Linked DNA regions of Homo sapiens: all the other regions are linked to region 1. The links are contacts of gene promoters, found by promoter capture Hi-C in human tissues and cell types (Jung and others, 2019). All regions are on one chromosome and are shown on one strand. The core of a region is centred on a gene start or on the middle of the fragment in contact, and the rest is flanking DNA. Distances in the headings are between cores, read along the strand shown.

What was found. Contacts are between HindIII fragments. The study calls those that stand out against the background at their distance.
Region 2: a contact is called between the fragment with the promoter of GLT8D1 here and the fragment with the promoter of TNNC1 in region 1, in 1 of the 25 tissues and cell types used here (adrenal gland).
Region 3: a contact is called between a fragment that was not itself captured here and the fragment with the promoter of TNNC1 in region 1, in 1 of the 25 tissues and cell types used here (dorsolateral prefrontal cortex).
Region 4: a contact is called between a fragment that was not itself captured here and the fragment with the promoter of TNNC1 in region 1, in 1 of the 25 tissues and cell types used here (adrenal gland).
Region 5: a fragment that was not itself captured here is called in contact with the fragment with the promoter of TNNC1 in region 1 in 2 of the 25 tissues and cell types used here (dorsolateral prefrontal cortex and mesenchymal stem cells).

The regions. Positions count from the first base shown.
Region 1 is chr3:52,452,176-52,456,610 of GRCh38, reverse strand. It overlaps TNNC1 (troponin C1, slow skeletal and cardiac type), which reads left to right and starts at 2,570. Exons shown (of 6, transcript NM_003280.3): 1 at 2,570-2,619; 2 at 4,098-4,128; 3 at 4,359-4,435. The coding sequence starts at 2,596. It overlaps NISCH (nischarin), which reads right to left and starts at 1,007. Exons shown (of 21, transcript NM_007184.4): 1 at 877-1,007. The coding sequence starts at 969. RefSeq lists enhancers at 1-28, 3,708-4,435 and a silencer at 853-1,082. The HindIII fragment of the contact is 8,260 bases long and covers 1-4,435 here.
Region 2 is chr3:52,703,381-52,707,815 of GRCh38, reverse strand. It overlaps GLT8D1 (glycosyltransferase 8 domain containing 1), which reads left to right and starts at 2,025. Exons shown (of 10, transcript NM_018446.4): 1 at 2,025-2,369. It overlaps SPCS1 (signal peptidase complex subunit 1), which reads right to left and starts at 1,710. Exons shown (of 4, transcript NM_014041.5): 1 at 1,534-1,710; 2 at 1,113-1,172; 3 at 937-1,023; 4 at 1-129. The coding sequence starts at 1,569. The coding sequence ends at 4. RefSeq lists an enhancer at 113-182 and a silencer at 2,129-2,298. The HindIII fragment of the contact is 20,736 bases long and covers 1-4,435 here.
Region 3 is chr3:52,673,878-52,678,312 of GRCh38, reverse strand. The region is part of intron 3 of PBRM1 (polybromo 1); the gene reads left to right. Among named protein-coding and RNA genes, the nearest start is that of PBRM1, 9.8 kb to the left of the region's middle. The HindIII fragment of the contact is 3,085 bases long and covers 581-3,665 here.
Region 4 is chr3:52,651,663-52,656,097 of GRCh38, reverse strand. It overlaps PBRM1 (polybromo 1), which reads left to right. Exons shown (of 32, transcript NM_001405607.1): 7 at 4,288-4,356. Among named protein-coding and RNA genes, the nearest start is that of PBRM1, 32 kb to the left of the region's middle. The HindIII fragment of the contact is 3,551 bases long and covers 712-4,262 here.
Region 5 is chr3:52,615,979-52,620,413 of GRCh38, reverse strand. PBRM1 (polybromo 1) reads left to right here. Exons shown (of 32, transcript NM_001405607.1): 16 at 2,876-3,152. Among named protein-coding and RNA genes, the nearest start is that of PBRM1, 68 kb to the left of the region's middle. The HindIII fragment of the contact is 4,614 bases long and covers 24-4,435 here.

The sequences.
Region 1 (4,435 bases), core at 1,321-3,820:
AGGCCCCCACCCACTCCCTACCCTGCGGGAACAAAGGGGAGGAGGCAGGGAGGTGCTCTATGCCTAGTCCAGGGCCGGTTTTTGCCAGGCAGCCCACCAGGCTCACAGGCCTGGCATCCAACCCCGTCAAAGTCGGGAACTACCCGCTATTTGTCCTCTGTCTCCCCCATAGCTTAGAAGTGTGTGTGGGCAGCTTGTTGCCCCATCTCGCTCCCACAGCCCAAAGTCACGAAGATTCCTAAGGCTTATAGGGCCTGCGCTTTAGCACTGAGACCACCCCCATTTCTCCATAGATGGGCTCCACCCCTCCTCCGGTCTTGTCTCCGCCCGACCCCCAAGGCATCTGCTCCCCAGGTCTCTCCTGCACTTCTCAGAGAAAATCTCAACCACCACCTCAGGCTCCCCAGATCAGGGTCCTGACGCCTTCTCTTTCTTCAAGGCCTGCGAAGCCTGACCCTTTTCCCTGATTCCATCCATCAGAGACCCTCTCCCCATCGCCTTCCTCCTGGACCCCTGTAACGGTCTTCCAGGCCGGGGCCCCTCCAGTCCTAGAGGATCTAGAGGGGTTCCGCCTCATCTAGACACCCCCCTCCCCAAGCCCCCTTTATCCCCAGATGCCGCCCCCAACCCGAGCCTCCCTTTCTGATCGCGTACCCTTTTCCAAACCGCCTCCCCGGGCCCCGAGCAACCCTTCTCCCGGACCTGCGGGGCCCAGATCCCTTTCCTAGATCCCCCGTCCCAGCCCCCTCCTCGCAATCGCAGACCCTTCTACCCGCTCCTCGGGGCTGCAGATCCCGGACCCCTCCCCAAGCCCCCGAGTCGGACTCCCGGTTCCAGCCACCACCCCCGCTTCGGGTGCCCGCGCCCCCAACACACCGTATAAGTGTCCACAAGCTCCGAGCCCACGACGCGCGCTTCCTTGGCCGGCTCGGCTTCCCGCTCGGGCCCGAAGGTGCGCGCGGTCGCCATGTTCGGGTCTCCGCCGCCACCGCCGCCCGGCGCAGACTAGCAGCAGCAGGGGGCGGGGTCAACGTCCCACCGCCCCCCGGCCCCCGCCGCCCGTCGCCCCCGCCGCGCGCTGCGCCGCCATCTTGGCCCCGCCTTCTTCCTGCGCCCTCGCCCCGCCCCCGCGCGTGACTGACAGGGGCCACTCAGGGCGCGCGTGCGAGGTGCTCGCTTGCGTAATCTACCTGCGTGGCGCCGCCGGCGGTACCCTGCACAGCCTGCTAGAAACTGAGACCCCGGGTGGTGACAGCTCTGGGCATCGCCCCTGGGTCCTCGGGAAGAGGGGACAGAAGGTCCCGAGTCTCCCAGGCCACACGAAGCAAGTCACTGCTCTTCCTGGCCTCAGTTTACTCCTCCTGATAAAGGAGGCCATAATAGTGCCTCACCTGGCTGTTGGGCTCTTTCTCTTTAGGGCAAGGCAGGTTGGAGGGGAAAATAGGACCTGTGCTTACCGCCGGAGCAGGGCGAGAGTGATTCTGGGCCAGTTCTGAACCTCTCTGAGATTCGGAGATCTCTTGTCAGTGGGGCTTCTGGACAACTGAGTGGGTTGATTGATGCGCGGCCCAGCACGCAGTAGTGCTCGAGGCAGGGAGCGTGTTTATCAAGAGGGATAAACTTGATACGAACTCTGTACGAAGGAAGGTGTAGGTGGATGGAGGGGTGTGTGCTGCCACTGAGCACAAGAACCCCACGGGGTGGCCTGCCAAAGTTCAAAACGAGGGAGACAGGTTGATCTGGACCCAGGAACTACAGTGCTGAATCCTAAACCGGGGAAAGATGAGACCTAGAAGAGGGAGGTGGTAACCTAATTGGAGGGTGAGGAGGGAAAGAGCCTGCCACAGATGGGGCATCTATAGGGGTGCTGTTGAATAACTGAGAGCAGCTGACTTAAGCCCGAAGTGGGTACTTCTCCCTGGGCAGATGGGAGGTCTGGGACAGGCTCCTCTGGCAGAAGGGCTCCTGGCCACCCTGTCCTAAGGTGGGTCAGTCACTTCCTCCTTCACCAGTTCCACAGCATCTTACTATGAGCTTGGCATTCGAGGCTTCTCTTGGCAGGGCCCTGCACTCCTAGCCTCTCCTTGCACATTGCACCCCCATTCCAGAGAGGTTTAGTTAAAGGCGGGGGTTACCAAGTCAGTCAGATCTTGGGCAAGTCACCACTCCTCCAGAGCCTCAGTTTCCTTATCTGGAAAGTGGAGGTCATGGCAACCCGCCAACCTGGTTGGATGGGAGCCTGAGCTGTTGTGTTGCACCTTGCCTGGGGCCCACGACTTTGTAGCTCCTGTCCTGCACTGGGCTTATGTTTTCATTCATTCCAGAAACCTTTTCAGAGAGTCCCTTTGGGGAGTGTGGGGGACAGGAGGGAAAGAAACCTGGTCCTTGTAGCCGTTCGTCTGCTCCCTGCCCTGGGCAGAGGACGTGGGGACTCAGGCCAGCCTGAGATCACTGGGACCAGAGGAGGGGCTGGAGGATACTACACGCAGGGGTGGGCTGGGCTGGGCTGGGCTGGGCCAGGAATGCAGCGGGGCAGGGCTATTTAAGTCAAGGGCCGGCTGGCAACCCCAGCAAGCTGTCCTGTGAGCCGCCAGCATGGATGACATCTACAAGGCTGCGGTGAGGGACAGGGCTGGGTAGGGCTGGGGTGGGCAGGCCCACTGGGGGCTCACTCAGCTGAGAGTGCGGGGTTAGTAGCCCCAGGGAAGTGGTGGGGACCAAGGAGAAGGCCTACGTGCCTTCAACCCAGGCCCTCACAGGGACAGTGATTCTGGTGTTTGAGGATGCAGAAGGGGTAGGGGGTTCCGGGTCTGAAGGGTGGTGGAGGAGGTTGCAGCTTTCAGCATCGTGTCTCACTCTCTGTTTCCAAGTGTCTGTGGTCTGTGGCACTGTCGCTCAGCCACATGTCTCTGCATTTGTCTCTGGACGTTTTTGCCTTTCTCTTTTCATCTCTTCCTCCTGAGCTGTCTGAGTCCCCATTACTGTCTCCCTGTCCCCAACCCCCATTTCTGCCCCTCACATTCTGCTTCTCACATGCTCAAAATCTGCCACCCCACTCCAGCCCCTTGGCGGGCCGAAGATGCTTTGGAGGGTGGAGGGTGTGAGAGGAGGGGTCTGTAGAGCCTGAGTCCTGGGCTGGAGATGGGGCTTTGAAGTTTGAGGCAGGGAAGTTCTGGACATGAGGGAGAACCAAGGAAGAAGGAACAGAGAACTGGGGCCCCAGCTCCCATCATGCCTGGCAGGCTCAGGGCTCAGTGGCTTAGCTAGGGGTGAGAGCGAGGGAATGAGGGCTGGAGAGTGGTCACCCCAAGCCCCTGCAACCTCCTGGGTCACTGAGGGTCTTCAGATGCTATTCTATCCTGGGTGGTGGTGACCTCCCCCAACCCCAGAGCAAGGACATCCTGGCATGGCCAGCTGTCCCCAGGGGAACCCCTCCCTCAGCCTCCCTCACTCCTGGGCAGGGAAGTGCTATAGCCAGCTCTGGGGGCACGCCTGCTTATCCTGTGGGAGTCCATGGAGCCGGGGTTGGGACAGCCCTCCACCCAGTGCCCATACAAGGCCTGGCGGAGTTGGGGACTAATTTTGGCTTCTGAGGCGGCACTAGCAGGCCAGGGGGCCAGATAACGCTGCCCCACCCCCTGCATGCCAAAGTCCCCAGAACAATCACCAGGTTTAACTTTGTTCCTCGTTAAAAATAGCCCAGTGGCCACCCTGGTCAGGTTACCGTGGGTGGCTTGCCTGCCTCCACACTGGTTTTATTATCCCAACTTGAGGGACAGCTGTCCTTCGGGCCACCCAGCTTGAGTTTCATCAGGGGCCGAAAGGGCATTGAGTGGTCACTGACTATTGTTACTGAGGGTCACCTTGGTCCTGAAGGGGGTGCCCACCTGTCACCCTGGCCCTGAGCCCAGTCGCAGTGAGGCCAGCTGGGTCACGTCAGGGCTTTGGGGGCAGGGAGGGAGGACTGAGACCTCCACTCTGTGGCCTGGAAATAGCCTGCCTCCTCCAGCTCCAGCCTTCTCACCTGTGGAATGGGTTGGTTTCCTCAGCAGCAGCTATACCTGAGTCTGAGCCTTGAGATTCCCTTTCCTTTCTAGGTAGAGCAGCTGACAGAAGAGCAGAAAAATGGTGAGAATCCCTATCACACATGTGGGAGACCAGCGGGTCCAGGCTGGCATGGGGACCCCTTATCAGAAGAGGACCCCAGGCCAGAGACCAGAGGCTTGGTCCCTCTTGCTCTGCCCTCAGAGAGGTCTCCGAGGGAGGTGGGCAGGTTGGCAGGTGGCCCCAGGGTTCTGGCCCTCCGTGGTCCTGGCTGCTGAGCCCTGACTACTGTGCCCCCCAACCCCTGAACACAGAGTTCAAGGCAGCCTTCGACATCTTCGTGCTGGGCGCTGAGGATGGCTGCATCAGCACCAAGGAGCTGGGCAAGGTG
Region 2 (4,435 bases), core at 776-3,275, 250 kb before region 1:
ACCTCAATTATTTTTAGCATGCCTCTTAATTTTTCTTTCCCCTGGTTTCTTGTCGTCTGTGCTTGATTCTTGAACAGGTAACCACTTGAGAGGATGCCGGCGATAGATGGGCCATGGAGGAAGTGTCAGCTGGGCCAGAAAAGAGGAAATGCATAAATTATAGCTATTAAAAGTTTAAAAAATCATTACGTATAATGCCAGGTTCCCAAATGACTCCTATGCTGAGGGAACAAAAAAACAAAAAAAAAAATCCATATTCCTATAAAGGCTCTGTGCCACCATCCATGCAAAATACTGTATGATGATGGGAACAGGCTCACTGCCTATACAAATGGCTTTAAGACCTAAAAGAAAGGTGGGGGCCAGGCGTGGTGGCTCTCGCCTGTAATCCAAGCACTCTGGGAGGCCAAGGTGGGCGGATTGCTTGAGACCAGCCTGGCCAACACAGTGAAGCCCTGTCTTTACTAAAAATACAAAAATTAGCTGGGTGTGGTGGTGGGCTCCTGTAGTCACAGCTACTCGGGAGGCTGAGGCAGGAAAATCTATTAAACCCGGGAGGCAGAAGGTGCAGTGAGCCGAAATCGCCCCAGTGCACTGCAGCCTGGGCAACAAGAGTGAAACTCCGTCTCAAAAAATTTAAATAAATAAATAAATAAAAGGTGAAGGGACAACGTGAGCACCATGAAAACTCCTGCTGGCTTTGACCTTAAGATTATTAGCCAGAGTAGCCGCCAAAGGAAATAAGCTGTGTCCTTTTATATAGTTCGCACCATCTGACACTATTTTGGCATTCTACTTTTCCAATGATAGCAAAGGGAAACGCTGTTTGGAAGGATGAGGGAAACGTTGGCTTTGGGTCTCACTACTGAGTAGGTCTAACCAAACCAACCCGACTCACAAAACCCAAGCTGCCACTAATACCCACAAATTTCTTACCAAACATGAAAAAGCAAATCCGGCCATAACTATATAGACAGTCCACCCGAACTGTTCAGCCACGTACCCGTAGATAAATCCAACTATCTAGAGACAAATGAAGTATATTAAACACACTCAAACTGAGGGTTGGGAGGGAGGCGGGGGCGGAGATTAAATGTAAAACCAATACTTACTGCAGAAAAAAGAATAATTCCCTGAAACATCTGTTCAGCTAGCTTCTGGCCCTTGTAATCCTGGGGTGAAGCAGAGGAAAAAAAGAATTGGTTCCACCGCCGAGAACATACAATTCCTGCCCTGACCTCACAACTCTGGCACAGGGTAACCCCAACATCAGGGTCTCCCGCTCTCCTAAGGGCCTGGGCAAGATATTAAATTCTGGGCTTCCCGGGAGGAACTGAAACACCCTCACGGAGAATGGACAGGAGATTCTCGCGGAGTAGAAGAGAAGGGGACCCAGGAGGCAATTCGGGAAAGAGGGTGGACGGTAACCATCCGGGCCCGGAACAGCGCAGCACCGGGTCGGTGCTCCAACATGGGCTTCGAAGCTGCCAGGCACAAGAACGGCGTGCAGAGGTCCCCGGGTTGCGCCCTCACCATCTGCGTGGGCAGCGAGCTCAGATGCTCCAGCATGGCTGGCTGAGGAGGCGGGCAGCTGAGCGCGGGTGGCAGGCTGCGAGGCGAGGGCGACCGAGACTTAAGGACCGTGAGGGGTAAGGTCTGGCACTGCGCGTCAGTAGCCGGGCCTTCTAAGCCCGGGAGAGCGATGGCGGCGGCCCCGGAAGCGGAAGTCTCCGACGGGCCGGTACAGCCCGTGTCCCCGCCCCGCGCCATCGCTAGGCGACGTGCGCTTTTGCCGCGCCGTGCTGCCCGCGAGGGCAGCTGAGGTGGTGGTGGCGGCCGCCTTGTCGAGGCATCGCGCGCCCGTGAAGTGTTCGCCGTCAGTGCTGTTGGGTGCCTGGAGCCGCGTCCCCCGTCCCGAAAACTGTCCTTGACAGTACTTGCGCGGCCCAACGGCCGCCGGCGCCCCCGCGTCTCCATGGCGACGGCCTTTTTCCCTGCGAGGACCCCGGCGGCAGGGCTGCCCCGCGGCGCCTGCTTGGCGCGACGCTCTAGCGGTTACCGCTGCGGGCTGGCTGGGCGTAGTGGGGCTGCGCGGCTGCCACGGAGCTAGAGGGCAAGTGTGCTCGGCCCAGCGTGCAGGGAACGCGGGCGGCCAGACAACGGGCTGGGCTCCGGGGCCTGCGGCGCGGGCGCTGAGCTGGCAGGGCGGGTCGGGGCGCGGGCTGCATCCGCATCTCCTCCATCGCCTGCAGTAAGGGCGGCCGCGGCGAGCCTTTGAGGGGAACGACTTGTCGGAGCCCTAACCAGGGGTATCTCTGAGCCTGGTGGGATCCCCGGAGCGTCACATCACTTTCCGATCACTTCAAAGTGTAAGGGGGGCCCTACTGACCCTTGGAATTTAGGGGGGCTACCCTAGGCGGCATCCACAACAGAGAGAATTCCCTTGGAGAGGGGACCCTGGTGCTCGGCTGTCCCTCTCATCCGCGTAGAAAGTCCCTCATCTGGGGGCTCCCGAACTCAGCCCTCTCACATTGTGGCCGGCTTTACTGACCCTCACAGACCCAGGCTGGGCCCTCCCGATAGAGGCCAGCCAAAGGTTCACTCAGCCTCTCTTTCAAGGCTGGTGTATCTCTAAATCTTAGACCCTCCTCCGTTACCGTCAGCCAGGTGGGATGCCCACGTTTTGGAGAGAAACCGTTCTGAGGAACCCGGGCCTCTGGGTCCCAGCTGGCTCTCCGGCCCCCAGGTTATGTATTCTGGGTTGGCCACAAACAGTGGAATTCTAGGCACTCCCGGGACAGGGTGGGACTGCTGTCCTCATTCATGCAACCAGCAAATATTCACGGCACCTTGTTTGTGCCAGACAGCAGACCGAGGACACGGTTGTTACCAAGACCAGGCTGTTGCCTTGGAAGAGCCCAGAGCGTGTCAAGGGAGACAGCCACATCACGCCAGAAATACATGACAGCTGGATTAGCCCTGGGAGAGGGAGGCCCAGATGTGGGAGCTCAGGGGAGGTGCAGCTCAACGTGGAGTTTGGAGGAGGCTACCTTGACCTTTGAATGCCAAGTGGGAGCCAGCCAGATGAAAGGGTAGGAGAAAGTGTTTGTATATCCTCAGTGCCCTTTCATCCTTGCACGTGGCAGAGACCAAACAGTAAAATGCAGACACGTTTGACACTTTTCTGACCTCAGAAGGACTCAGGACGTGTAGAAGGCAGAAAGAGGGATGGGCAAGAGTTTATTCCTGTTTCCTTCTCATGCTCTGTATTTCTTGGTGTGTTTGAAGAGACTTTCTGTTGTGTGTATAAATAGATATATCTCTGTGTGGTCTTTTTTTTTTTTTTTTTTTTTTTTTGAGGCGAAGACTCGCTCTGTTGCCCAGGCTGGAGTGCAGTGGTGCGATCGCGGCTCACTGCAACCTCCGCCTCCTGGGTTCAAGGGATTGTCCTGCCTCAGCCTTCTGAGTAGCTGGGATTACAGGCATGCGCCACCACGCCCGGCTAATTTTTGTGATTTTAGTGGAGACGGGGTTTCACTGTGTTGGCCAGACTAGTCTCAAACGCCTGACCTCAAGTGATCCACCCACCTCGGCCTTCCAAAGTGCTGGGATTACAGGCATGAGCCACCGCGCCCGGCCAGTGCGGTCTTTTTTTTTTGTATCCACAGTTTTGTATCCTTGGATTCAACCAACCACGGACTGAAATTACAGATACAGAGGGCTGACTGTAATATGCCATTTTACATAAGGGACTTGAGCATCCGTGAATTTTTGTATACATGGGGAGTCCTGGAGCCAATCCCCGACTGATACTGAGGACCAACTGTGTTGCTAATCAAATTGTACACAATTATATACTCTTACGAAAATGTAGTTAACTATTACAGATCCAGCGTCTGTGTGCAATTTCGTTTTGAGAATTCCTTCTAACCAGATCAGGAAAGCTCTCTTACCAGGAATAGCCCCAGGAAAGACAATATGGATTAGACGTACTCCATGATAACTGGCGTTTTGCATGTAGGTAACTGTGGAAGTTTTAGGAGCAACTGGTTTCTGCCTTGCCAGTCTACTTAAGTATGTCAGATACTTGATAGAATTGTGTTTTTCTTGTTTCCAGCCAAGTGTGCCTCTTGATCCCGTAACTGCTAACTGGAAGTCAAGAAACTAAAAACATTATCTCTTGTACCATTAATTAAGTGGGATTTATTTGAGTGCAAGATCGTTTTCTCAGTGGTGGTGGAAGTTGCCTCATCGCAGGCAGATGTTGGGGCTTTGTCCGAACAGCTCCCCTCTGCCAGCTTCTGTAGATAAGGTCAGCCCATAATGTGATAGAGGCATATGACTTAGGGTATATACTGATGTATATACTTCTCTTTTTTTTTTTTTTTTTTTGAGACAGAGTCTTACTCTGTTGCCCAGGCTGGAGTGCAGTGGC
Region 3 (4,435 bases), core at 874-3,373, 220 kb before region 1:
CAGGCACAGTAACATGCACCTATAATCCCAGCTACTTGATTTTTTGAGCCAGGCACAGGAGCATGCACTTGTAATCCCAGCTACATGGGAGACTAAGGCAAGAGAATTGCTTGATCCAAGGAGTATGACACCAGCCTGGGCAACATAATGAGACCCCGTCTCTTAAAAACAAAAACAAAAAAAATGACCTATGCGGAAAGATCTCTTGAGGCCAAGAATTTGAGACCAGCCTGGGCAACATAGTGAGACCCATCTCTACAAAAAATTTTTTGAAAAATTAGCCAGGTGTGGTGGTGCTCACCTATAGACCCAGCTACTAGGGAGGCTGGGGTGGTAGGATTGTTTGAGCCTGGGAATTTGAGGCTGCAGTAAGCCATGAGTGTCACTGCACTCCAACCTGGGTGATGGAGCAAGAGCTTGCCTAAAAATAAATATTTAAAAAAGAGTACTGACCAGGCACAGTGGCTCACGCCTGTAATCCCACCACTTTGGGAGGTCTATAGGTGGGCAAATCACCTGAGGCCAGGAGTTCGAGACCAGCCTGGCCAACATGGCAAAACCCTGTCTCTACTAAAAAATACAAAAATTAGCCAGGTGCAAGGCTGGGCGCAATGGCTCATTCCTGTAATCCTAGCACTTTGGGAGGCGAAGGCGGGTGGATCAGCTGAGGTCAGCAGTTTGAGACCAGCCTGGCCAACGTGGTGAAACCCCGTCTCTACTAAAAATACAAAAATTAGCCAGGCTTGGTGGTGGGCGCCTGTAATCCCAGCTACTTGGGAGACTGAGGCAGGAGAATCACTTGAACCCGGGAGGTGGAGGTTGCAGTGAGCCGAGATCGTACCGTTGCACTCCAGCCTTGGTGACAAGAGTGAAACTCCATCTCAAAAAAAAAAAAAAAAAAAAAGCCGAGCATGGTGGTGGGGCGCCTGTAATCCCAGCTACTTGGGAGGCTGAGGCAGGAGAATTGCTTGAACCTGGGAGGCAGAGGTTGCAGTGAGCTGAGATCCCGCCACTGTATTCCAGCCTGGGTGATAGAGCCATTCTGTAGGTTGCCTTTTCATTTTGTACGGTGTCCTTAGATGTACAAAAGGTTTTAATTTTCATGAAGTTTATGTTGTCTTTTTCTCTTGTTGCCTGTGCCTTTGGTGTCATATCCATGAAATTAATGCCAAATCCAATATCATGAAGCTTTTCCCCTATGTTTTTGTATTAATCAGGGTTCTCTTGGACAGGACTAGGCTGCAAATTTTCCAAACTTTTATGCTCTGCTTCCCTTATAAAACTGAATGCCTTAAACAGTACCCAACTCACCTCTTGAATGCTTTGCTGCTTAGAAGTTTCTTCTGCCAGATACCCTAAATCATCTTTCTCAAGTTCAAACTTCCACAGATCTCTAGAGCAGGGGCGAAATGCCCCAGTCTCTTTGCTAAAACATAACAAAAGTCACCTTTACTCCAATTCCCAGCAAGTTCCTCATCTCCATCTGAGACCACCTCAGCCTGGACCTTATTGTCCGTATTGTTATCAGGCTTTTGGTCAAAGCCATTCAAGTCTCTAGGAAGTTCCAAACTCCCACATTTTCCTGTCTTCTTCTGAGCCCTCCAAACTGTTGCATCCTCTGCCTGTTATCCAGTTCCAAAGTCGCTTCCACATTTTCGGGTATCTTTTCAGCAGCGCCCAACTCTACTGGTATCAATTTACTGTATCAGTTGGTTTTCACACTGCTGATAAAGACATACCCGAGACTGGGAAGAAAAAGAGGTTTAACTGAACTTACAGTTCCATATGGCTGGGGAGGCCTCAGAATCATGGTGGGAGGTGAAAGGCACTTCTTACATCAGTGGCAAGAGAAAAATAAGCAAGAAGCAAAAGTGGGAACCCCTAATAAACCCATCAGATCTCATGCAACTTAATCACTATCACGAGAATAGCACGGGAAAGACTGGCCTCCATGATTCAGTTACCTCCCTCTGGGTCCCTCCCACAACATGTGGGAATTCTAGGAGATAACAATTCAAGCTGAGATTTGAATGGGGATACAGCCAAACTGTATTGGTTTTCCTCTAAGAGTTTTATAGTTTTAGCTCTTACATTTAGGCCTTTGATCCATTTTGAATTTTTATAAGTAGTGTTTAGGTAAGGATCCCGCTTCATTCATTATTTTTTTTTTTTTTTTTTTTTTTTTTTTTTTTTTTTTTGAGACGGAGTCTCGCTCTGTCGCCCAGGCTGGAGTGCAGTGGCGGGATCTCGGCTCACTGCAAGCTCCGCCTCCCGGGTTCACGCCATTCTCCCGCCTCAGCCTCCCAAGTAGCTGGGACTACAGGCGCCCGCCACTACGCCCGGCTAATTTTTTGTATTTTTAGTAGAGACGGGGTTTCACCATTTTAGCCGGGATGGTCTCGATCTCCTGACCTCGTGATCCGCCCGCCTCGGCCTCCCAAAGTGCTGGGATTACAGGCGTGAGCCACCGCGCCCGGCCCCCGCTTCATTCTTTATATGTGTGTATCCAGTTTTCCCGGTATCGTTTGTTGAAAAGACTGTGCTTTTCTCATTGAATGGTTTTGGCGCCTTTGTCAAAATTTGCTTGACCGTGTATGTGAGGGTCGTTTCTAGGCTCCATTCTATTCCATTGGTCCCTGTGTCTGTTTTTATACCAGTAGCACACATTTTGATTACTGTGAACAACATATTCAGTGGCAAAATACTTAAAGCTTTTCCTCTAAGATCACGAACAAGACAGAGATGCCCACTTTCACCACTTCAACACCTTGTTCACTGTGGAATAAATCCCACCTGGTTATGGTATATAATCCTTTTAATATCCTGCTGAATTCAGTTTGCTAATATTTTATTGAGAAATTTTGCATCAGTATTCATAAGGGATATTGATCAGTAGTTTTCTTGTAGTATCTTTGTCTGGCTTTGGTATCAGAGTAATGCTAGCTTCATAGAATAAGTTAGGACGTGACCTCGCCTCTTCAATTTTTTGGAAAAGTTTCATAAGGCTTGGTGTGTTAGTTCTTGAAATGTCTGGTTAGAATTCATCAGTGAAGCTATCAGTCTAGGGATTTTCTTTGTGGGAGATTTTTTATTACTGATTCAGTCTCCTTACTAGTTATAGGTTTACTCAGGCTTTGTATGTCTTTAGTAGGTTGTGTGTTTCTAGGAAATTATCCATTTCTTCTAGTTTATCTAATTTGTTGGCATACATGTTTTCCTAGAACTCTCATAATCCTTTTTATTTTTGTGGCATTGGTTGTAATGTCTCCTCTTTATGATTTTAGTTATTTGCATCTCTTTTCTCCCTTACTTCTTCCCTCCCTCCCTCCTCCTTTCTGTCTTTTTTTGAGACAGGATCTTGCTTTGGCACCCAGGCTGGAGTGCAGTGGCAATCACAGTTCAGTGCAGACTCAACCTCCCGGACTCAAGCAGTCCTCTCACCTGATGCTACCATACCTGGCTAATATATATGTTATATATACGTGTGTATGTATATAGTAAACACATAAAATATATATATTGTATATATAACGTATTTTTTATTTATATATGTAAAAATATGCTGGATTCTTACCTAACGCTACATACATATTAAAAAATAACGTATGTAATGTTAGGTAAGGAGATATATGTGTGTGTGTGTGTGTATATATATATATATATATATATTTTTTTTTTTTTTTTTGGTAGAGACAGGGTTTCCCTGTGTTGCCCAGGCTGGTCTCAAACTCCTGGGCTCAAGTGATCCTCCTACCTTGGCCTCCCGAAGTGCTAGGATCACAAGTGTGAGCCACCACACCCAGCCTCTCTCTCTCTTTTTTTTTTTTTTTTTTGAGATGGAGTTTCGCACCAGGCTGGAGTGCAGTGGTGCGATCTCGATTGTGGCTCACCACAACCTCCGTTTCCCAGGTTCAAGCGATTCTCCTGCCCCAGCTTCCCGAGTAGCTGGGATTACAGGCATGGGCCACCACGCCCAGCTAATTTTGTATTTTTAGTAGAGACAGGGTTTCTCTATGTTGGTCAGGCTGGTCTCAAACTCCCGACCTTAGGTGATCCGCCTACCTTGGCCTTCCAAAGTGCTGGCATTACAGGCGTGAGCCACCGTGCTCAGCTCTTTCTTTCTTAGTTAATCTAGCTAAGTGTTTACCAATTTTGTTGATCTTTTAAAAAAACCAACTGTTTAATTTTTAAAATTGTTTTTCTATTCTCTAATTTCGTTTATCTGCATTCTATATATATATCTATATATATATTTTTTTTTTGAGACAGTGTCTTGCTCTGTTGCCCAGGCTGGAGTGCAGTGGCGTGATCATGGCTTATTGCAGCCTCTGCCTTCCAGGTTCAAGTGATTCTTATGCTTCAGCCTCCCAAGTAGCTGGGATTACAGGCGTGTGCCACCATGCCTGGCTAATTTTTGTATTTTTAGTAGAGATAG
Region 4 (4,435 bases), core at 1,238-3,737, 200 kb before region 1:
CAGCATTCTCATATTTCTAGGTAAGGATATACTTTCAGAAGTACTCCATGGTAGCACTTAGCCCTATTGTGATCATTTACTTTTCTGTCTGCCTTCTTTTCTACTCCCTGAATTTCTTGAGGACAGTGACTGTGCTGTAATTTACCTTTGTATTACTGTCTATAACTGGAACCCGATCCGAAGGATTGGATGACTTTGGATTACTTTGTACCCCATGCTGGGTGGTCATAGATATGCAAGATGCTTGTTGACTGATGAGTAGCATGCAGCTTTCCTCATCAGTCATTGGCAAGACTATAGTTATTTAAAGGTGTGTCTTGACTAGCTATAGGATAGTTACAACATTAGAAATAAAGCAACTGACCACTGCTGTCCTATGTGTGAATCTTACTAGAAAGATGTAATTATTAATATTGGTCATATGACTTAAAACTTTAAGAAAAGGAGAAAACAGTATGATGATTCTCTAGAGAATTAAACATGGAATTACCATATGATCCAGCAGTTCCACTTTAGATATATACTCCAAAGAAAGTGAAAGCAGGGTATTGAAGAGATATTTGTATACCCATATTCATAGCAGCATTATTCACAATAGCTAAAAATGGAAGCAACTCAGGTGTCCATCAGTGAATGAATGTATATGTGACATATACATACAGTGGCATATTATTTGGCGTTAAAAAGGAAGGAAATTCTGAAACATCCTACATGGATGAACTCTAAAGACATTATTTTAAGCAAAATGAGCCAGTCACAAAAGGACAAATACTGTATGATTTCTTATATGAGGTACCTAGAATACTCAAAATCTTAGAGACATAAAGTTAGAATGGTGGTTGCCAGGGGCTGGAGGGAATGGGGAGTTGTTTAATATGTACAGAGTTTCCATTTTGCAAGATTAAAAAGTTCTGGAGGTGGATGTCAGTGATAGTTGCACAGCAGTGTGAGTGTACCTCATGCCACAGAACTGTACACTTAAAAATGGCAAATTTCATGTTACTACATGAAATTTATTTTATTACAGTAAAAAAAATTATAAAAGAAGTACAGGATAGGTGTAGTGACCCACACCTGTAATCCCAGAGCTTTGAGAGGCCAACATAGCTGAGACTCTGTCTCTACAAAAAAAATTTTTTTAATTAGCTAGTCATGGTGGTGTGCACCTGTAGTCACAGCTGTTTGGTGGGGCTGAGTTTGGAGGATCACTTGAGCCTAGGAGTTCAAGGCCGCAGTGAGCTGTGATCATGCCACTTCACTCCAACCTAGGCAACAGAAAGAGACCCCGTCTCTTTTTCTCTCTCTCGCTCTCTGTCAACTCTCATTCACACATGCACACATACACACAAAATAGAAGTACTGTCTTCGCTCAAGATTTATTCTTACCCTGCAGGAGATAATCAGTGATGGTCAAATCAACAACAGTGATATGGGGCAATGAAACATCAATAATTAGTTCCCCCCATTCCCCCTTCAAGGTCACCTTGAAGGAGCTGGTTGGGAAAAGCAGGTTTCTATTGGTCTCTCAGGGTGTGACAGTTTGAAAGACAACAAGGATTGACAGCTGAAGGGGCAGGACAGTTTTCACCTTTCCTTAGTAAGTCCGTCCCAAGCAAGCTGGCTGCATGGGAGAGATAGATTGGGAATTTGTGGGATTGGATGACTTTGAATTACTTTGTACTCCATGCTGGGTGGCCTTGCCATAATTTGTCCTCTGAACTTTCTCTCAGAAGTAGAACTGGTGAAGAGAAGGGGCAGCAATGGAGATTCATCCAAGTAAAGGAAGGAGTAGGGTTAAGAAAGTAGTGGTAAGCTTAGGGGACAGATGAGATAAAACAACACTGAGATAATCTGTTCAGCCCAGTAACTGAGTGAAGGCTGTGGCTTTCTGCTTTTGTTGTTGCTGCGTGGGCTTCAGTAGGGTTTGAACAGGTGGGAAGAGTTGGGAGAGCACAATCTGACTTCCCCTGAACCTCTCCCATCTGATAAGACCAACTTTTGATATTTGGGCAACTTCAGTTATTTCCTCCAAGGAAGAAAATCTGTAGGAAAGCCTGAGTGCAGTGAGTGATTCTAGGTTGTTGTGAAAGCTTCAAGGACATTCCTCAACATGTTCAATTTCTTGGGATGACCTAGTATTTGATAAATCAGAAGTTGCTAATAATTTTGCTTCATTTCTTTTCTTTTTTCAAGACAGTCTTGCTCTGTCACCCAGGCTGGAGTGCAGTGGCGTGATCTCAGCCCACTGCAACCTCTGCCTCCCAGGTTCAAGCGATTCTCCTGCCTCAGCCTCCTGAGTAGCTGGAATTACAGGCACCCGCCACCACACCCAGCTAATTTTTGTATTTTTAGTAGAGACGGGGTTTCACCATATTGGCCAGGCTGGTCTTGAACTCCTGACCTCGTGATCTGCCCGTCTCGGCCTCCCGAAGTGCAGGGATTACAGGCATGAGCCACCATGCCTGACCAGAATTTTGCTTCATTTCTTTCTTTCTTTTTTTTTTTTTTGAGACAGAATTCTGCTCTTCTTGCCCAGGCTGGAGTGCAATGGAGCAATCTCAGCTCACTGCAACCTCCACCTCCCAGGTTCAAGCGATTCTCCTGCCTCAGCCTCCCAAGTAGCTGGGATTACATGCATGCACCAACATACCAGGCTAATTTTGAATTTTTAGTAGAGATGGGGTTTCACCATGTTGGCCAGGCTAGTCTCGAACTCCTGACTTCAGGTGATCCACCCACCTCAGCCTCCCAAAGTGCTGGGATTACAGGCGCGAGCCACCATGCCCAGCCGTGCTTCATTTCTTTAACAAAGTTTCATTCAAAAGGTATTTTGTTTTGAAAAAACTTACTTTGACTGAAATAAGCAGAAGCATCAAGTTAAACATGAAGCTAACAAATTTTGCAACCTGACTTCTTACAGATCCTTATGAAAGTTTATGTGAATATTATATAATAACGTTATTTAGATTGCAAAATTAAAAGAGCTTGTAACAAACTCCTAAAGAGCATTTCTTCTACTTTATTTCTAGGCATAGATATCTTGGGACCTTAAATGAAAAATTGTATAATTCTGTGAATTTAGAATTTTTGTTTGTTTTTTGAGACGGAATCTTGCTCTGTTGCACAGGCTGGAGTACAATGGCGTGATCTCGGCTCACTGCAACCTCCATCTCCTGCGCTCAAGTGATTGCCCTGCCTTAGCCTCCTGAGTAGCTGGGATTACAGGCGCACACCACCATGCCTGGCTAATTTTTGTATTTTTAATGGAGACAGGGTTTCGCTATGTTGGCCAGGTTGGTCTTGAACTTCTGACCTCAAGTGATCCAGCTGCCTCAGCATCCCGAAGTGCTGGGATTACAGGTGTGAGCCACCGCGCCTTGCCGAATTTAGATTATTTATTTTTTTTTTGAGATGGAGTCTTGCTGTGCCGCCCAGGCTGGAGTGCAGTGGCATGATCTCGGCTCGCTGCAACCTCTGCCTCTTGGGTTCAAGCGATTCTCCTCCCTCAGCCTCCAGAGTAGCTGGGACTATAGTTGTATGCCACCATGCCCAGCCAATTTTTTTTCTATTTTTAGTAGAGACAGGGTTTCACCACGTTAGCCAGGATGGTCTCAATCTCCTGACCTCGTGAACCACCCGCCTCGGCCTCCCAAAGTTCTGGGATTACAGGTGTGAGCCACCGTGCCCTGCCTAGAATTTTTTTTTTTTTTTTTGAGACGAAGTCTCTTTCTTGTCCCCCAGGCTGGAGTATAATGGCACGATCTCAGCTCACTGCAATCTCTGCCTCCCAGGTTCAAGCGATCCTCTTGCCTCAGCCTCCTGAGTAGCTGGGATTACAGGTGCCTGCCACCACGCCCGGCTAATTTTTGTATTTTTAGTAGAGATGGGGTTTCACCATGTTGGCCAGGCTGGTCTTGAACTCCTGACCTCAGGTGATCCACCTGCCTCGGCCTCCCAAAGTGCTGGGATTGCAGGCGTGAGCTACCGCACCCGGCCCCAGCCTAGAATTTTTTAAAACATTAAATTTTATGCTAGTTGCATAATAACACTCAAAATACCAAGTTTTAACTCCTAAGTCATGCTGTTGGATAGATCATGAAGCTTCTTAAGATTAAATTCTTTATGGTTCTGATATAATAAATGTGCTGTACAGCCATGTCTTTAGTCTTGAATCTCACAAAGCTGCTTCACTGGTTGTTTGAACAACAGATTGTCAATGTACTTCCTTCTCTTTTCATTAGCTGAATAGTTTAACTTATTGAGCATGCCTGGTTTTTTGTCTTCCAGCAATATCCAGATTATTATGCAATAATTAAGGAGCCTATAGATCTCAAGACCATTGCCCAGAGGATACAGGTATGAAGATGACCATAAGTAAATGATTGTGGTTTAGAGCAGATTGGCCTATGATCTTTCCTAGAAGCTTTTAGAAAAC
Region 5 (4,435 bases), core at 1,081-3,580, 160 kb before region 1:
TTGCTAGAATGAGGACTAATTTCATCCTGTCCTGTTTATTGGAGAGATCCTGTAAGCTTAGAGCTTCAGAATTGAATTCCTCTGTCTTCCTTTTAAAGTCCACCCCACATGCGAGATCTAATCAAACCACATCTGACTTCAAAGTCAGGTTCTGAAATTTTTCTTTAGAGACTTCCTGAAGGTTAAAGTCATCTGTGTTCTAATCTGTGCCCAGATGTGGAGCTCTGTGGTATTGGAGCTTTGTCCTAACTTCCCTTGTATTATCCACTTGCCGAAGACTTAGAATGAGAGAACTCTTCCTGTCACATCATTGCCCCAGGATGTCTCCTTGGAGAAGGAGTTTCCACTAGGTAAAATATCTAACAAACGTTTTGCCATCATCTAACAAACTTATCTAACAGAAAAAAAAGTGCTGAGGGGAGAAAATGGCAGGAATTGTCTGAGGTCCACAATGAGCAGGAAATAAGCAGTCAGAGTGAAGACACAAGTTATGAGGATGATCCCAACTCTAGCAGGAAACAGGCTCTTGTCTGTTTTTTTCCTAATTAAATCACTTTGTTTGCCTTGAGTTATAGGCATTTCTGAAAAGCCTAAAAATCTTAAGGATAGATGTTTATTTTCTCAACTGTTAATTCTTGATTTTTCTTTCTGTGTTTTAAAAAAGTGTATTTTGAACCTTGGAGAGAAAAGATCTGGCCTTTGGCTTCTTCATGACCCAGGAGTAGTGCAAGTAGTCAGGGGACTGGACCAGAAGACCTATACAGCCACATATAGTTTGCCTGAGGAATGAACTTTCTTCCACCTAAAGGATAGGGAACAGATACAAAATATTTACCTCTAAGTACAGTTGGCCCTCTGTATCCATGGCTTCCACATCCAGGGATTCAACCAACTATGGATAGAAAAAAAAATTTTTTAATTGCATCTTTACTGTACATGTACAGACTTTTTTTCTGTCATGTCCTAAGCAATACAGTGTAACAAAACAACTATATAGCATTTTTAATGTATTAGGTATTATAAGTAATTTAGAGATGATTTGAAGTATACAGGAGGATGTGCACATGTTATTTGCAAATACTACACCATTTTGTATCAGGGACTTGAGCATCTATGTATTTCGGTATACAAGGGAGATCCTGAAACCAATTCCCCATGAATACCAAGGGATGACTATACTATAGGACCTTAGTAAATATTTTTTTAATAGAAATTAAGTTGGCCAGGCGCAGTGGCTCACGCCTGTAATCCCAACACTTTGGGAGGCCAAGGTGGGCGGATCACCTGAGGTCAGGAGTTTGAGACCAGCCTGGCTAACATGGTGAAACCCCGTCTCTACTAAAAATACAAAAATTAGCCGGGCACAGCCGAGCCCGATGGCTCAAGTCTGTAATCCCAGCACTTTGGGAGGCCGAGGCAGGCGGATCACCTGAGGTCGGGAGTTCGAGACTAGCCTGACCAACATGGAGAAACCCTGTCTACGAAAAATACAAAATTAGCCAAGCGTGGTGGTGCATGCCTGTAATCCTAGCTACTCGGGAGGCTGAGGCAAGAGAATTGCTTGAACCCAGGAGGCGAAGGTTGCGGTGAGCAGAGATCACACCGTTGCACTCCAGCCTGGGCAACAAGAGTGAAACTCCATCTCAAAAAAAAAAGCAGGGCGTCGTGGCAGGCGCCTGTAATCCCAGCTACTTGGAAGGCTGAGGCAGGAGAATCGCTTGAACCCAGGAGGCAGAGGTTGCGGTGAGCTGAGATCGTGCCATTGCACACAAGCCTGGGCAACAAGAGCGGAACTCCATCTCAAAAAAAAAAAAAAAAAAAACTAAGTCATAAGTCATTTCTTGTTATTACCTACTTCACTGTTCACTTGGAGACTGCTGGTTAGTCTGACTAGAATTTCTTTATCTGGCTAGAATTTCTTTAGCCGTGCCCTGAGTACATAAGAATAGTTAACCGGAAGCCATATCGGAAGATCATTGCTTCTAATAATTTACTAGGAAACTTACCTTGGGCAAGTCTTTTACCCCCTCTGAGCCAGTTTTCTCAGCAATTAAGAGATAGACCATCTGCTCTCTTGGAGCCCTTTTGAACTCTGGATCTAATCTATAGTCCCTTATGCTTTGTTCCATACTGCTTAAATCAGCTTCTCAGCATCACATCTCACTGGGGGAATTTGGAGAACAAGACGGATTCATGCTCAAGGATGGAAATTTTACTCTAGAAAACTCAGATTAACCACACCGCTTATTCTTTAAAGTAGGTTGGAACTGTGGAATAATGCTGATGGAGAAAGCAAGGACGACCCTGACAGAATCAATGCAAGAGAGGCTCATACCCACTGTAAAGACACTAGTCTGGCAGTCTCCTTTTGTTTTCAGACAACCAAAATACACAAGTGTTCAGGAGTACTTGTCTTAAGAGATGAAACACTTCTCTTTTTAGGTTTTTTATTTTGTTTTGTTTTTGTACTTGGAAGTGAGGATATTATAACCGTAGAGAATTGCTAGTTTTATTGCACTTTGGCTGTACTCATCTTTAAACAAAAAATATATCTCAGTTGACTATATAATTTCATTTTCTTTTGGTATCAGAGAGGATCTTATTTCAAACATTGCATTTCATGACATATCTAAAAAGTTTTTTTGGTGTTCATTAACTGCTCCTGCCAGAATTACTGTGTTTTAACTATTTTGGAAATTTTCCTAATATTTGCTTATAACTTCCAGCATGGTTACTGTGTTTGTGGCATATGTAATCAATAAATTGTAATCATTATAAAGCACCATAAATAATTTGTTTTATTTTGTGGTCATCCGTATATTAAGAAAACTGAACCTATTCTAATTTTTCCCCTTTTCTACCTCCCCCTCAACAGTAAAAAGAACATAAGAAAGCAGCGAATGAAAATCTTATTCAATGTTGTTCTTGAAGCTCGAGAGCCAGGTTCAGGCAGAAGACTTTGTGACCTATTTATGGTTAAACCATCCAAAAAGGACTATCCTGATTATTATAAAATCATCTTGGAGCCAATGGACTTGAAAATAATTGAGCATAACATCCGCAATGACAAATATGCTGGTGAAGAGGGAATGATAGAAGACATGAAGCTGATGTTCCGGAATGCCAGGCACTATAATGAGGAGGGCTCCCAGGTAAGGAGGGCCAGCGGTCCTGAAGTAGGCACATTTTGCGGGAGAGGGGTACTTATAGAATAATGCATTTTGAGAGACCAGCTCTAGAGGCTTAACTTAGATTATTCTTTTTGGTGACTAGGTTAATTGATTTTTCTTCATTGTTTACAATCAGAGGCAGTACATTATAAAGATAAACGTTCCTACTTTGTAATCTGACATCCTAGATTTGAATTTTGCTCTGCCAGTCCCTGTGTAAGTAATTTATCCTTCCTGAGCCTCAATTTCTTCATCTATAAATTAGGGCTAATAATAGTACTTGCATCAGGGTTGTTGTAGGATTTAAAAGAGATAATGTATACTGAGCATTTAGCAGAGTGCCTGGTACTGAATAAGCACTCAAAGGAAAGCCAATAGTATTAAAATCTTTCATCATCATCATTACTACGATCCTCAACGACCATACTTCTCCAAAGACAGCCTATATAGAAAATGTATAATTATATAAAAATCAGCATGATAGTCCCATAAATGTACCTCTAAATAATTTATTTAATTGATTTTGCTACAGAGCATCTTGATTTTTTTTTGAGACGGAGTCTCGCTCTGTCGCCCAGGCTGGAGTGCAGTGGCGCCATCTCAGCTCACTGCAAGCTCCGCCTCCCGGGTTCATGCCATTCTCCTGCCTCAGCCTCCCGAGTAGCTGGGACTACAGGTGCCCACCACCACGCCCAGCTAATTTTTTGTACTTTTAGTAGAGATGGGGTTTCACCATGTTAGCCAGGATGGTCTTGATCTCCTGACGTCGTGATCCCCCTGCCTCAGCCTCCCAAAGTTCTGGGATTACAGGCGTGAGCCACTGCGCCTGGCCAAAGCTTCTTGATTTTTAGTTCTTTATCGTTGTAACTGAGATACAGTCTCCCTTCTTTGAAACTTTTTCTATTTGATATCTTTTTATCCACTTTACATCTCCCAGAAATAAAATAACATTTTTAAGTCATTTGTTTCCCTCTGCAATTACATTTGATTATAAAATAAAGTATGCATTGAGGATGCTTATAGATAAAAAAATGGTTCTATCTTAAGGGTTTACACAGTCCTCAGTGTCATTGGCTAATGTACCCCTTGTCTATCACTGGTAGAGGAAAAAGCCACCTTTAAGAGAGGTGGCCAGACAAGGGAGGTCACTTATTCCCTCAGCTCCTCTGCTTTGGTGGGTGGCCAAGGGAGGACATAGCATCTGCTGAGGAGGTAAGAGGAGGGGCTGTGGATGCAAAGCATAAGGTGAGTAACCTTATTCTTGA